2 separate regions of the Homo sapiens genome follow, and region 1 is linked to region 2. Evidence: promoter capture Hi-C in human tissues and cell types (Jung and others, 2019). All regions are on one chromosome and are shown on one strand. Each heading gives the region's core, a stretch centred on a gene start or on the middle of the fragment in contact. The rest is flanking DNA. Distances are from core to core; before and after follow the strand shown. Region 1 overlaps DOCK3 (dedicator of cytokinesis 3). Region 2 holds the start of POC1A (POC1 centriolar protein A).

The links. Contacts are between HindIII fragments. The study calls those that stand out against the background at their distance.
Region 1: a contact is called between a fragment that was not itself captured here and the fragment with the promoter of POC1A in region 2, in 1 of the 25 tissues and cell types used here (dorsolateral prefrontal cortex).

The regions. Positions count from the first base shown.
Region 1 is chr3:50,755,477-50,761,140 of GRCh38, reverse strand. All of the region lies in intron 1 of DOCK3 (dedicator of cytokinesis 3), which reads right to left. Among named protein-coding and RNA genes, the nearest start is that of MIR4787, 83 kb to the right of the region's middle. The HindIII fragment of the contact is 3,740 bases long and covers 341-4,080 here.
Region 2 is chr3:52,153,106-52,158,821 of GRCh38, reverse strand. It overlaps POC1A (POC1 centriolar protein A), which reads left to right and starts at 4,399. Exons shown (of 11, transcript NM_015426.5): 1 at 4,399-4,467. The coding sequence starts at 4,450. RefSeq lists enhancers at 3,052-4,028, 4,029-5,006. The HindIII fragment of the contact is 12,174 bases long and covers 1-5,716 here.

The sequences.
Region 1 (5,664 bases), core at 961-3,460, 1.4 Mb after region 2:
TAAAAATAAAAAAATAAAGAAGACAGGATCTTATGTGTATTTTTTTTTTAATAAAGAATCCATCCAGGTGCGGTGGCTCACGCCTGTAATCCCAGCACTTTGGGAAGCCAAGGCAGGCAGATCACGAGGTCAGGAATCGAGACCATCCTGGCTAACACGGTAAAACCCCGTTTCTACTAAAAATACAAAAAATTAGCCAGGCGTGGTGGCAGGCGCCTGTAGTCCCAGCTACTCAGGAGGCTGAGGCAGGAGAATGGCGTGAACCCAGGAGGCGGAGCTTGCAGTGAGCCGAGATCACGCCATTGCACTCCGCCTGAGAGACAGAGCAAGACTCCATCTCAAAAGAAAAAAAAAAAAAGAATCCACATTAAACTATTAGAGGTAGCAAACTAGTTCAGCAAGATTGCAGGATACACAATCTGTACAGATGCTCCTCGACTAACAACGTGGTTACATTCTGATAAATCCATCGTAAGTTAAAAATATCTTTAATTGAAAATTCATTTAAAATATCTAACCCATCAAACATCATAATTTAACCTAGCCTATTTTAAACATGCTCAAAACACTTCAATTAGCCTACAGCTGCACAAAATCATCTAACACAAAGCCTATTTTATAAGATGTTCAATGCCTCATATAATTTAGTGAATATTATACTGAAAGTGAAAAACAGAACGGTAGTATTAATACTCAAGGTATGATTTCTACTCAATTCACATCACTTTTGCACCATAGTAAAGTCCAAAAACCATAAGACAAACCATCCTAAGTCAAGAACCATCTGCATATAAAAATCAGTTGTGATCTTAGAAACAAACCCTCACATAAATGATCACTTGATTTTTGACAAGAGTGCCAGGATCATTCAACAAAGAACTGACTGTCTTTTCAACCAGAGGTGGTGGAAAACTGGATACCACATGCAAAAGAATAAAGTTGGATGGACCCTTATCTCACAGCATATACAAAAATGAACTAAAAATGGCTCAAAGACTTAAAAGTAAAAGCTATAACTGTAAAACTCTTAGAAGAAAACATAAGGGAAAAGCTTCATGACACTGGGTTTGGAAATGATTTCTTCATGACCAAAAGTACAGGAAAAAAAAAAAAGAGTCCGCCTTCATCAAAATTTAAAACTTGTATGCATCAAAGGCTACATCAACAACAATCCACAGAATGGGAAAAAATATTTTTAAATCATATATCTGATAAGGAATTAACTGACAGGATAAAGAACTCCTACAGATCAGCAACAAACAAACAGATTTTTTTTTTTTTTTTTAATAATATCTCACTCGGTCACCCAGGCTGGAGTGCAGTGGCATGATTACAGCTTATTGTAGCCTTGAACTCCTGGGCTCAGGCAATACTCCCACCTCAGCCTCCCAAGCCTTCCTGTAGTTGGAACTACAGGCACGTGCCACCATGCCCAGCTAATTTTTTCCATTTTTTTTTTTTTTTTTTTTAGAGACGGGGTCTTACTTGTCACCCAGGCTGGTATTGAACTCCTGGGCTCAAGCAGTCCTCCTGCCTTGGCTTCCCAAAGTGCTGGGATTACAGGTGTGGGCCAAAACACCCAACCCAAATTGATTCTTAAAATAGGCAAAAGACTTGAGTAGGCATTTTTGCAAAGAAGATACACAGATGCTCAACAGGCACATAAAAAGATGTTCAACATCCCTAATCATTAGGGAAATGCAAATCAAAGCACAATGAGATGCCACTTCATACCCATTTGGATGGCTATTACGAAAAAATAAAAAAGAACAAATATTAAAGGTGTGGAGAAATTAGAACCTTTTTGCATTGCTGGTGGGGATGTAAAATGGTGCAGCCGCTGTGGAAAACAGTATAGCAATTCCTAAAAAAATTAAACAGAATAATCAAATATAATTATTTTAATTTAAAAAGAATTTAAATTAAATACTTAATTTAGTTAATTAAATATCTAATTTCATTTAACAAATTTAATTTTAATTTGATATTAAACAGAATTATATGATCCAGCCATTCCACTTCTGCGTATATATCCAAAGGCAGGGGACAAGGACAGATATTTGTATACCCGTGTTCTAGCACGATTATATACAATAGTGAAAAGGTGAAAGTAATCCAAGTGTCCACTGATAGATGAACAGATAAAATATGGTACGTGCCTACAATGGAATATTATTCAGCCTTACAAAGTAACAAAATCTTGACATGCTACAACATGGATAAACCTTGAAAGTACTACACTAAGTAAAATAAGCTAGTCACAAAAGGAAAATTTTATATGATTCCACTATAGATGATCCTCAACTTATGATGGTTCAATTCATGATTTTTCAATCTTACAATAAGCTTTTGGATGTACCCTCATCAAAAGAGAAGGAGTATCTGTAATACATTGTTCCCGGAGTGCTCAAATTCATAAAGAAAAAAGTAGAATTTTGGTTGCCGGGGGCTGGGAAAGTGTGGAATGAAGAGTCAGTCTTTAATGGGTACAGAGTTCAAGCTGAGGAAGATGAAAAAGTTCTAGATATAGATGGTGGAGATGGTTATTTAACAACAGTATGTATGTACTTGATGCTGCAGAACTGTACACTTTCAGACGAGATCGGCGCGTTCAGGGTGGTATGGCCATAGACAGAACTGTACACTTACAAATGGTTAAAACTATAAATTTAATTATATATCTTTTTTTTACTGTCGTAATATATAAGCACAATAAAAAAACAGAGATACAGAGATCCAGAATATCCAAAACAATCTTGAAAATGAGGACAAAATATAAAGGATCCACACTTCTCAATTTCAAAACTTACTATAAAATTACAATTGTGAAGATAGTGTGGTAGTGGCATAAGGATAGAATTATGTCAAAGGAAAAGAACTAAGACTCTGGGGCGGGGGGGATAACCTTCAAATTTATGTCCAATTAATTTTCTTTTTTTTTTTCTTTTTTTTTTTTTTTTTTTGAGACAGAGTCTCGCTCTGTCGCCCAGACTGGAGTGCAGTGGCGCGATCTCGGCTCACTGCAAGCTCCACCTCCCGGGTTCATGCCATTCTCCTGCCTCAGCCTCCCGAGTAGCTGGGACTACACACACACACTGCCACTCCCGGCTAATTTTTTTTGTATTTTTTAGTAGAGACGGGGTTTCACCGTGTTAGCCAGGATGGTCTCAATTTCCTGACCTCGTGATCTGCCCGCCTCAGCCTCCCAAAGTGCTGGGATTACAGGCGTGAGCCACCGTGCCCAGCCATCCAATTAATTTTCAATAAAGGTGCCAAGACAATTCAACAGGAGAAAGAATCATCTTTTCAATAGATATCCACAGGCAAAGTATGAACTTGGATTCTTACTTCACATCATAAACAAAAATTATCTCAAAAAAGTTTAAACCTAAATGTAAGAGCTAAACTACAGAATTCTTAAACAGGAGTAAATCTTTATGGCCTTGAATTTGTCAACTGTTTCTTAGATGTGAAACCAAGAACATAAGCAATAAAAAAGAAAATTAAATTTCATCAAAATTTAAAACTTTTGCACTACAAAGACCACCAAGAAAGTAAAAAGACAACCTACAAAATGGAGAAAATATCTATATATCACATATCTTACAAGGGACTTGTATCTAGACTATATAAAGAACTTTTACAACACAACAATAAAAAGACAATCTGAGCCAGGCGCAGTGGCTCACGCCTGTAATCGCAGCACTTTGGGAGGCCCAGGCAGGTGGATCACTTGAGACCAGGAGTTCAAGACCAGCCGGGCCAACATGGTGAAATCCTGCCTCTACTAAAAATACAAAAATTAGCCAGGCATGGTGATGCGCGCCTGTAATCCCAGCTACTTAGGAGGCTGAGGCAGGAGAAATCGCTTGAACCCAGGAGGCGGAAGCTGCAGTGAGCCGAGATCACACCATTGCACTCCAGCCTGGGTGAGACAGCAAAACTCAGTCTCAGAAAAAAAAAAAAAAAAAAAAAAAGACGACAATCTGACTGGGCACAGTGGCTCACGCCTGTAATTCCAACACTTTGTGAAGCCAAGGCAGATGGATTGCTTGAGCCCAGGAGTTCAAGATCAGCCTGAGCAATATGGCAAAACCCTGTCTCTATGAAAAATTAGCCAGGTGTGGTGAGGTGTACCTGCAGTCCCAGTTACTTGGAAGGCTGAGACGGGAGGACTGCTTGAGCCTGGGAGAGTGAGGCTGCAGTGAGCCATGATCCAGCCTGGGTGACAGACTGAGATCCTGTCTCAAAAAAGAAAAAAGATAACACAATTTTTAAATAGGGAAAGGATGTGAATAGATATTTCTCCCAAAGAAGATATACAAATGGCCAACAGGCACATGAAAAAATGCTCCACATCATTAGTAATTGGTGAAATGCTAATCAAAACCACAAGATACCAGTCTGCATGTGCTAGAATCAAAAAGACTGACAACAAAAGTGTAAGAGAGGATGCATTATTGGTGAAAATGCAAAATGGTGCAGCTCCTGTGAAAAATAGCTTGGTTACTCAAAAAGTTAAGCATATAATTACTATATGATCTAGCATTTCCACTCCTAGGTATATGCTGAAGAGAACTAAAAACATATGCTCTCATAAAAACCTGTACACACATGTTCAAAACAGTGTGTGTTTTGAACTAATCAAAACAAAAAAAATGTATGTTTTGATAAACAAAATGTGATATATCTGTTAGAGTAGGTAGACAGACAAGCAGGGCAGGAGAACCCCCCTACATGCCCCCGCTCCCCGCTCCCAGAATGTCAGGCAACCATAGAAAACACCTGGAGATGGTAATCAGCAGCTTCCCAATAAGATCGCAGGAATTGGGCGAGCAGACTCAAGCATGCACATTATGAGGCAAAATGGCAGAGTTTAACCAGTATATGACCATCCTCTGGAAACACTCTATTGGTAAGGGAAAAACGTCCCCAAATTAGCATGTGTACAACTTCCATAAACACACTGTGCATGTGGCCCTCCCAAGTGCTGGCAGGCCACTGCACATGCAGACAGCCCACCCCAAGGTAAAAAATCAAGGGAGGGGAAACAGAAACCCCAGAACCATGCCAGCAAATAAAACCTCAAGTCCAGGGCTGAATGGGGCATTTGGATCTCACTTGGCCCTCTTCCAAGTATACTGTGCTTCCTTTCACTTGTGCTCTAAAACTTTTTAATAAACTCTCACTACCGTTCTAAAACTTGCCTTGGTCTCTCCCTCAGCCTTAAACCTACTTCTGCCCCTCAGCAGAATTCTTATCTATACAGTGGAATATTATTAGTCTAGAAAAAGAATAAAATACTGATACATGCTATAACACAGATGCACCTTGAAATCCTATGCTAAGTAAAAGAAGCCATACACAAAAGAGTATATATTATATGATTCCATTTATATGAAATGTCCAGTATAGGCAAATACATGGACACAGAAAATGGATTCACTAATCTATTTTCTGGAGAAGGGAATAAGAATTGATTGCTATTGGGCACAGAGTTTCTTTCCTGGGAGATGAAAATGTCCTGAAATTAGATGATGATGGTTGCACAACCTTCTGAATATACTAAAAACCAATGTATTGTATATTTTATAAAAAGGCAAAATAATTCAAATGGTTCTCTTTTACATCAACAGATATTACTGATACTGTTCAGTTATACTC
Region 2 (5,716 bases), core at 3,150-5,649:
GAGGCCGAGGTGGGCAGATCACCTGAGGTCAGGAGTTTGAGACCAGCCTGGCCAACATGGTGAAATGTGGTCTCTACTAAAAATACAAAAATTGGCCAGGCATGGTGGCTCATGCCTGTAATTCCAGCACTTTGGGAGGCCAAGGCAGGAGGATCACCTGAGGTCGGGAGTTTGACACCAGCCTGACCAACATGGAGAAACCCCGTCCGTACTAAAAATACAAAAAAATTAGCCGAGTGTGGTGGCACATGCCTGTAATCCCAGCTACTTGGGAGGCTGAGGTAGGAGAATCGCTTGAAGCCGGGAGGTGGAGGTTGCGATGAGCTGAGATTGCACCATTGCATTCCAGCCTGGGCAACAAGAACGAAACTCCATCTCAAAAAACAAAAAACAAACAAACAAGAAAACAAAAATTAGCCAGGCATGGTGGTGCACGCCTGTAATCCCAGCTACTCAGGAGGCTGAGGCAGGAGAATTGCTTGAACCTGGGAAGTGGAGGTTACAGTGAGCCAAGATTGAGCCACTACACTCCAGCTGCCTGGGTGACAGAGCAAGACTCCTTTTCAAAAAAAAAAAAAAAAGAAAGAAATAAAGAAAAAAGAAAACAGAATTCAGGGCTGGGCGCAGTGGCTCATGCCTGTAATCCTAGCACTTGGGGAGGCTGAGGCAGGTGGATCACCTGAGGTCAGGAGTTCAAGACCAGCCTGGCCAACATGGCAAAAACTCGTCTCTACTAAAAATACAAAAATTAGCTGGACATGGTGGTGCACACCTGTAATCTCAGCTACTTGGGAGGCTGAGGAAGGAGAATCGCTTGAACCCAGGAGGTGGAGGCTGCAGTGAGCCGAGATCGCTCCATTGCACTCCAGCCTGTGCAACAGGGGTGAGACTCCATCTCACACACACACAAAAATAATAAAAATAAAAAATAATTCAGTTGATAGAGAAGAAATAATTTTTTTTCTGAAAGAAACCAAAGTACTAGGAGAGGAAAAAACCATGAAAGCCTTTTAAATACACACACACACACACCCCCACCATCTTGGATGTTAGCTTTTAAGTAAGCTGACTTTAAGCCATTAAGCGCCTTTAAAAAAAACCTTTTAAATATCATTACCATATTTTAGCTAGAACAAATAACTGATATTTCAAAAGTAACACAAATATCAAACCAAAAAGGGCTTGATTTAGGAACCAAACCCAGGCTGTCCTGGTGAAAAAAAGTGGGCAGAACCTTAGCTATGGAACTGCAGTTTGGGGCAACAGCATTCCTCTTTCAGTTTGGCTTGGTTAGCAAAAAGGTGGCCTTGTTATGTAAATAAAGCCCCTTAGGTAATCAAAATAAAAAATCTCTCCTTATTTTTTTCTTTTTGCTGGCTGTTTTTCTCTCTCTTTTTTTTTTTTGAGACGGAATCTCGCTGCGTCGCCCAGGCTGGAGTGCGATCTCGGCTCACTGCAACCTCTGCCTCCCGGGTTCTGAGTGATTCTCCTGCCTCAGCCTCCTGAGTAGCTGGGATTACAGATGCCCACCACCATGCCCAGCTAATTTTGTATTTTTAGTAGAGATGGGGTTTCACCATGTTGGCCAGGCTGGTCTCGAACTTCTGACCTCAGGTGATCCACCCAACTCGGCCTCCCAAAGTGTTGGAATTACAGGCGTGAGCCACCTTGCCCAGGCTTTTTTCTTTTTCTGTTGTGGGAATTTAGCCAATTCAGAGGCCTTGTTCCCCAAACTTTGGAACTTTCCTTCAGATTTGATCAAGTCAGATATAATTCATCAACCTCAATGGGAAAAAGAATGAAACAACAAAAACAGAAACAAACAACAACAAAAAACAGTTAAGCAAAAAAAAAAAAAGTGATCGCACAATTTGTTTATTTATTTTATTTATTTTATTTTTTTTTGAGACGGAGTCTCGCCCTGTCGCCCAGGCTGGAGTGCAGGGGCTTGATCTAGGCTCACTGCAAGCTCCGCCTCCCGGGTTCATGCCATTCTCCTGCCTCAGCCTCCCGAGTAGCTGGGACTACAGGCGCCAGCCACCACGCCCTGTAATTTTTTGTATTTTTAGTAGAGACGGGGTTTCACCGTGTTAGCCAGGATGGTCTGCGATGTCCTGACCTCGTGATCCACCCGCCTTGGCTTCCCAAAGTGCTGGGATTACAGGCGTGAGCCACCATGCCGGGCTTGATCGTACAATTTATATGATTACTGAGCACTCTAATGGTAAGGAAAATTAAGACCAGCTGGTTGTTAACCTTAACTTCAGCCAAGAAAATCCCCAATTCGGCTACTTACCTAAGAACAGGTCTTAGGCTAAAGACTGCTCTCTACCATCCCAGAAGTAGGGAAAACTCAAACTTTCCTTCTCTGTTGGAAGCGAGCTCAAACTCCAGAAAGGAGTTACCTGCCTTCCATCGTCAGGGAAGCAGGAAAACCTGCCTTCCTTGTTGGAAACAAGTAAAACTCCAGAAAAAGGAGTTGTACAGTAAAATAAACTTTAGATGTTAACCAAATTTGGGAAGATCAGGAATTTTGTGGAGGGGGGCTCCCAGGCCTTAGCAAATTGTCCTGTAGATTTGAGCCATAAAGATAGCTCAAGCTGGTACCAAGCACCGATAGGAGATCTGTCAAAGGTCAGGGGCACCTCCACTCAGAATCCTTTCGTGGTTGCCAAACTGTCAACCCGAAATACCTGAGACAGGTCTCAGTCAACTTAGAAAATTTATTTTGCTAAGGTTAAGGACACACCCATGACACAGCCTCAGGAGGTCCTGACAACATGTGCCCAAGTGGCCTGGGCACAGCATGGTTTTATACATTTTAGGGAGACAAAATACATCAATCAATACATGTAAGATTTACATTGGTTTGATCTGGAAGGACAAGACAACTCGAAGTGGGAAACTTCCAGGTCATTGGTAGATTTAAACATATTCTGATTGGCAATTGGTTGAAATAATTATTATCAGTAGAAAGGGATATCTCGGTTAAGATAAGGGGTTATGGAGACCAAGGTTTTACCATGCAGATGAAGCCTCCAGGTAGCAGGTTTCAGAGAAAATAGATCGTAAATGTTTCTTATCAGACTTAAGGTTTTTGTTGATGTTAATGCTGGAGGGTATAATGAGGCATGTCCAACCCCCACTTCCCATCATGGCCTGAACCACTCTTTCAGGTTAAATTTGAGTGCCCTGGCCAAGCAGGGAGTCTATTCAGATGGTTGCTGGTGGCCTTCAAATTTTATTTTATATATATATATATTTTTTGAGACGGAGTCTCCCTCTGTTGCCCAGGCTGGAGTGCAGCGGCAACATCTAGGCTCACTGCAATCTCTGCCTCCGGAGTTCGAACAATTCTCCTCCCTCAGCCTCCCGAGTAGCTGGGTTTACAGGCGCGTGCCACCACGCCCGGCTAATTTTTGTATTTTTAGTAGACATGGGGTTTCACCATGTTGGCCAGGCTGGTCTCATACTCCTGACCTCAGGTGATCCACCCACCTCGGCCTCCCAAAGTGGCAAAGTGCTGAGATTACAGGCGTGAGCCACTGAGCCCGGCCTCTCCTTCTTTTAAAGACTGGGTTTCTAACAGCTTCTGAGGCCTTAAGGATCCTGACAGGGCCGGGCTGCACCACACTCCCTCGTGTTACAAATGGGGAAACCGGGGCACAGAGCAGAGGCGTTTTTCCTGAGATCACACAGCCAATCAGGGCGAGAACTGAGAATCGAACCTTGATCTCTCCACTCCATGATTGTGATTCCGAGTAACTCATGTTATTTTAAATCGACACTTGTCTTAAGAACGTTCGGACGGCGAACCACTGAGAGTTCCCGAGGGGCGAATACTCAGCTCTCAATAGGTTCCTGCGGGGAAAATCTGGCTGCGCCGGCGCGCGCGGGTGCTTTAACGCAATCTGGTTACAGCAACCCACGTGTCCTCCGCTTCCGGGATCCTTAAGGCCGTCGCTTCGGGTGGTAAAACCCGGCCCGCCCTCTTGTTGCCCAGGCTGGAATGCAATGGTGCAATCTCATGTTGGGAAGTGTAGCTCCACCTTCCTCCAGACATAGGGGCGTGGGCGGCTTGGAACTGCATTTCCCAGGAGGCTGCGCTCGCCGTTAGAGTAGCCGGACGACGGGCTGGTGGGGTGAACCCTTCATCCTGGGTCTTTTAATTTCTCAGGCGGAACGAGTGGCGGCGGACAGAGGCTTTTGGCTGCGCTGTCTGTGGGTTGTCTGGGCTTGGGGAACTGGGCACGGAGACCGTGGCGCCGGCCGCCGGTCATACAGCTCTGCTTCCAGTCGTCGGGCAAAAAGCTGAGGCGCTTCTCCTTTAATTGCGGTGGGCGGGGCGTGCCGACGCGGCCCGCGTTGCTATTGGTGGCCGTTGGGGGCGCGGAAACTGAACGGGCCGCAACGGCCACCGCAGCTGCCTTCGGCGCCGCCAGCCCCGCCATGGCTGCGCCCTGCGCGGTAAGCCCAGCCGAGAGCAACTCCCCAGGCCTCAGTCTCCCCGCTGGGACACTGGGCGCCTAATGGCCAGAGCGATGGCTGCGAGGGGCGGGCGGGGCGCCAGGTTCCAGGGTGGTCCTCTTCAGGTCCAGTTTACTGTCTGCGCAGGGGGCGCTGGGTCGGGCACTTTCTGAGCGCCTCCTGCGTGCCAGGCCCTGCGCTGGGTTTCTGGAGCGAACAAACAGGCCTCTGCCTCCATAGTTTGCATCCTAGCGAGGGACACACGACCAAGTCCCGACTCATGTGTGACCTGGGGCCGGTATCGGGCCTCTCTAGCCATTCTCCACGTCCTTAGCAGTGGGTGGCTGCGTGGGGTCTTGTTGAGGGTACACCCTGCTCCAGCAGGTAGGTACAGCAGGACGCTGGGATGCCCGGGCCTGCAGTGTGAGCGGGGCGGAGCCGCCCTCTCTGAGTTCACATTCCTCCAGAAGTCCTCATTTCGAGAGATTCCTTTGAACGGGCAAGGCCCTCTGGCTGATTGGAGAGTCAGGGAGGCTGGGTGGTAGCCTGTGATGCCCTGAGGCACTTGAGGACATGGACGGAGATTCCAGGCTAGGATACAGACCTTTTGACTCCTAATCTGGTACTCTACCTCCCTTCCTGTCCCCTCATGTATAAACCACTGTTGAGGGAGATGAGGCCCACATGCAGGGAACTACAGAGGGGAGGCGGTGTTGAGAGATACCATGGGACCTACTGGTCAGGGGTGGACCTGAACTTGCCTCTGCCCACTGAGCCTAGGGGCGGACACTCTCTTACGCATGTTCTTTCAAGAAGCTTAGGTGAGAGCAGAAGGCTCTGTTGGGGACCCTCCCCCAGCTGCTCCTCCCTCTGTTGTTGAAAGGAGACTCTGACAGGTGCGTTAGGGGTGGAGCTGGGCACAAGGCCATAGGGCCTTTGTTCTGGTTACTGCTCTGTAGGGTGGCAGTGGCTTTGCTGTGCCCCAAGGACATCCTTTCCCAGGAGGAGCCTTTGGGCTTCCTGGAGCACCCAAAATGCTTCTTTGAGGTTTCTGATACTTAGAGTAGGGGGAGATGTTTGGATGGCTGAATTATAACCCTTCAAGTGTTAAGACACAAGCTGCTATTGGATGGAGAGAGTCTCCGGAGTATTCTCTCTGGTGTTTTAACTTTATTAAGTTATTCATACACCACAGAATTCACCTTTTAAAGTGTACATTTCAGTAGTTTTTAGTACATTCACAGTGTTG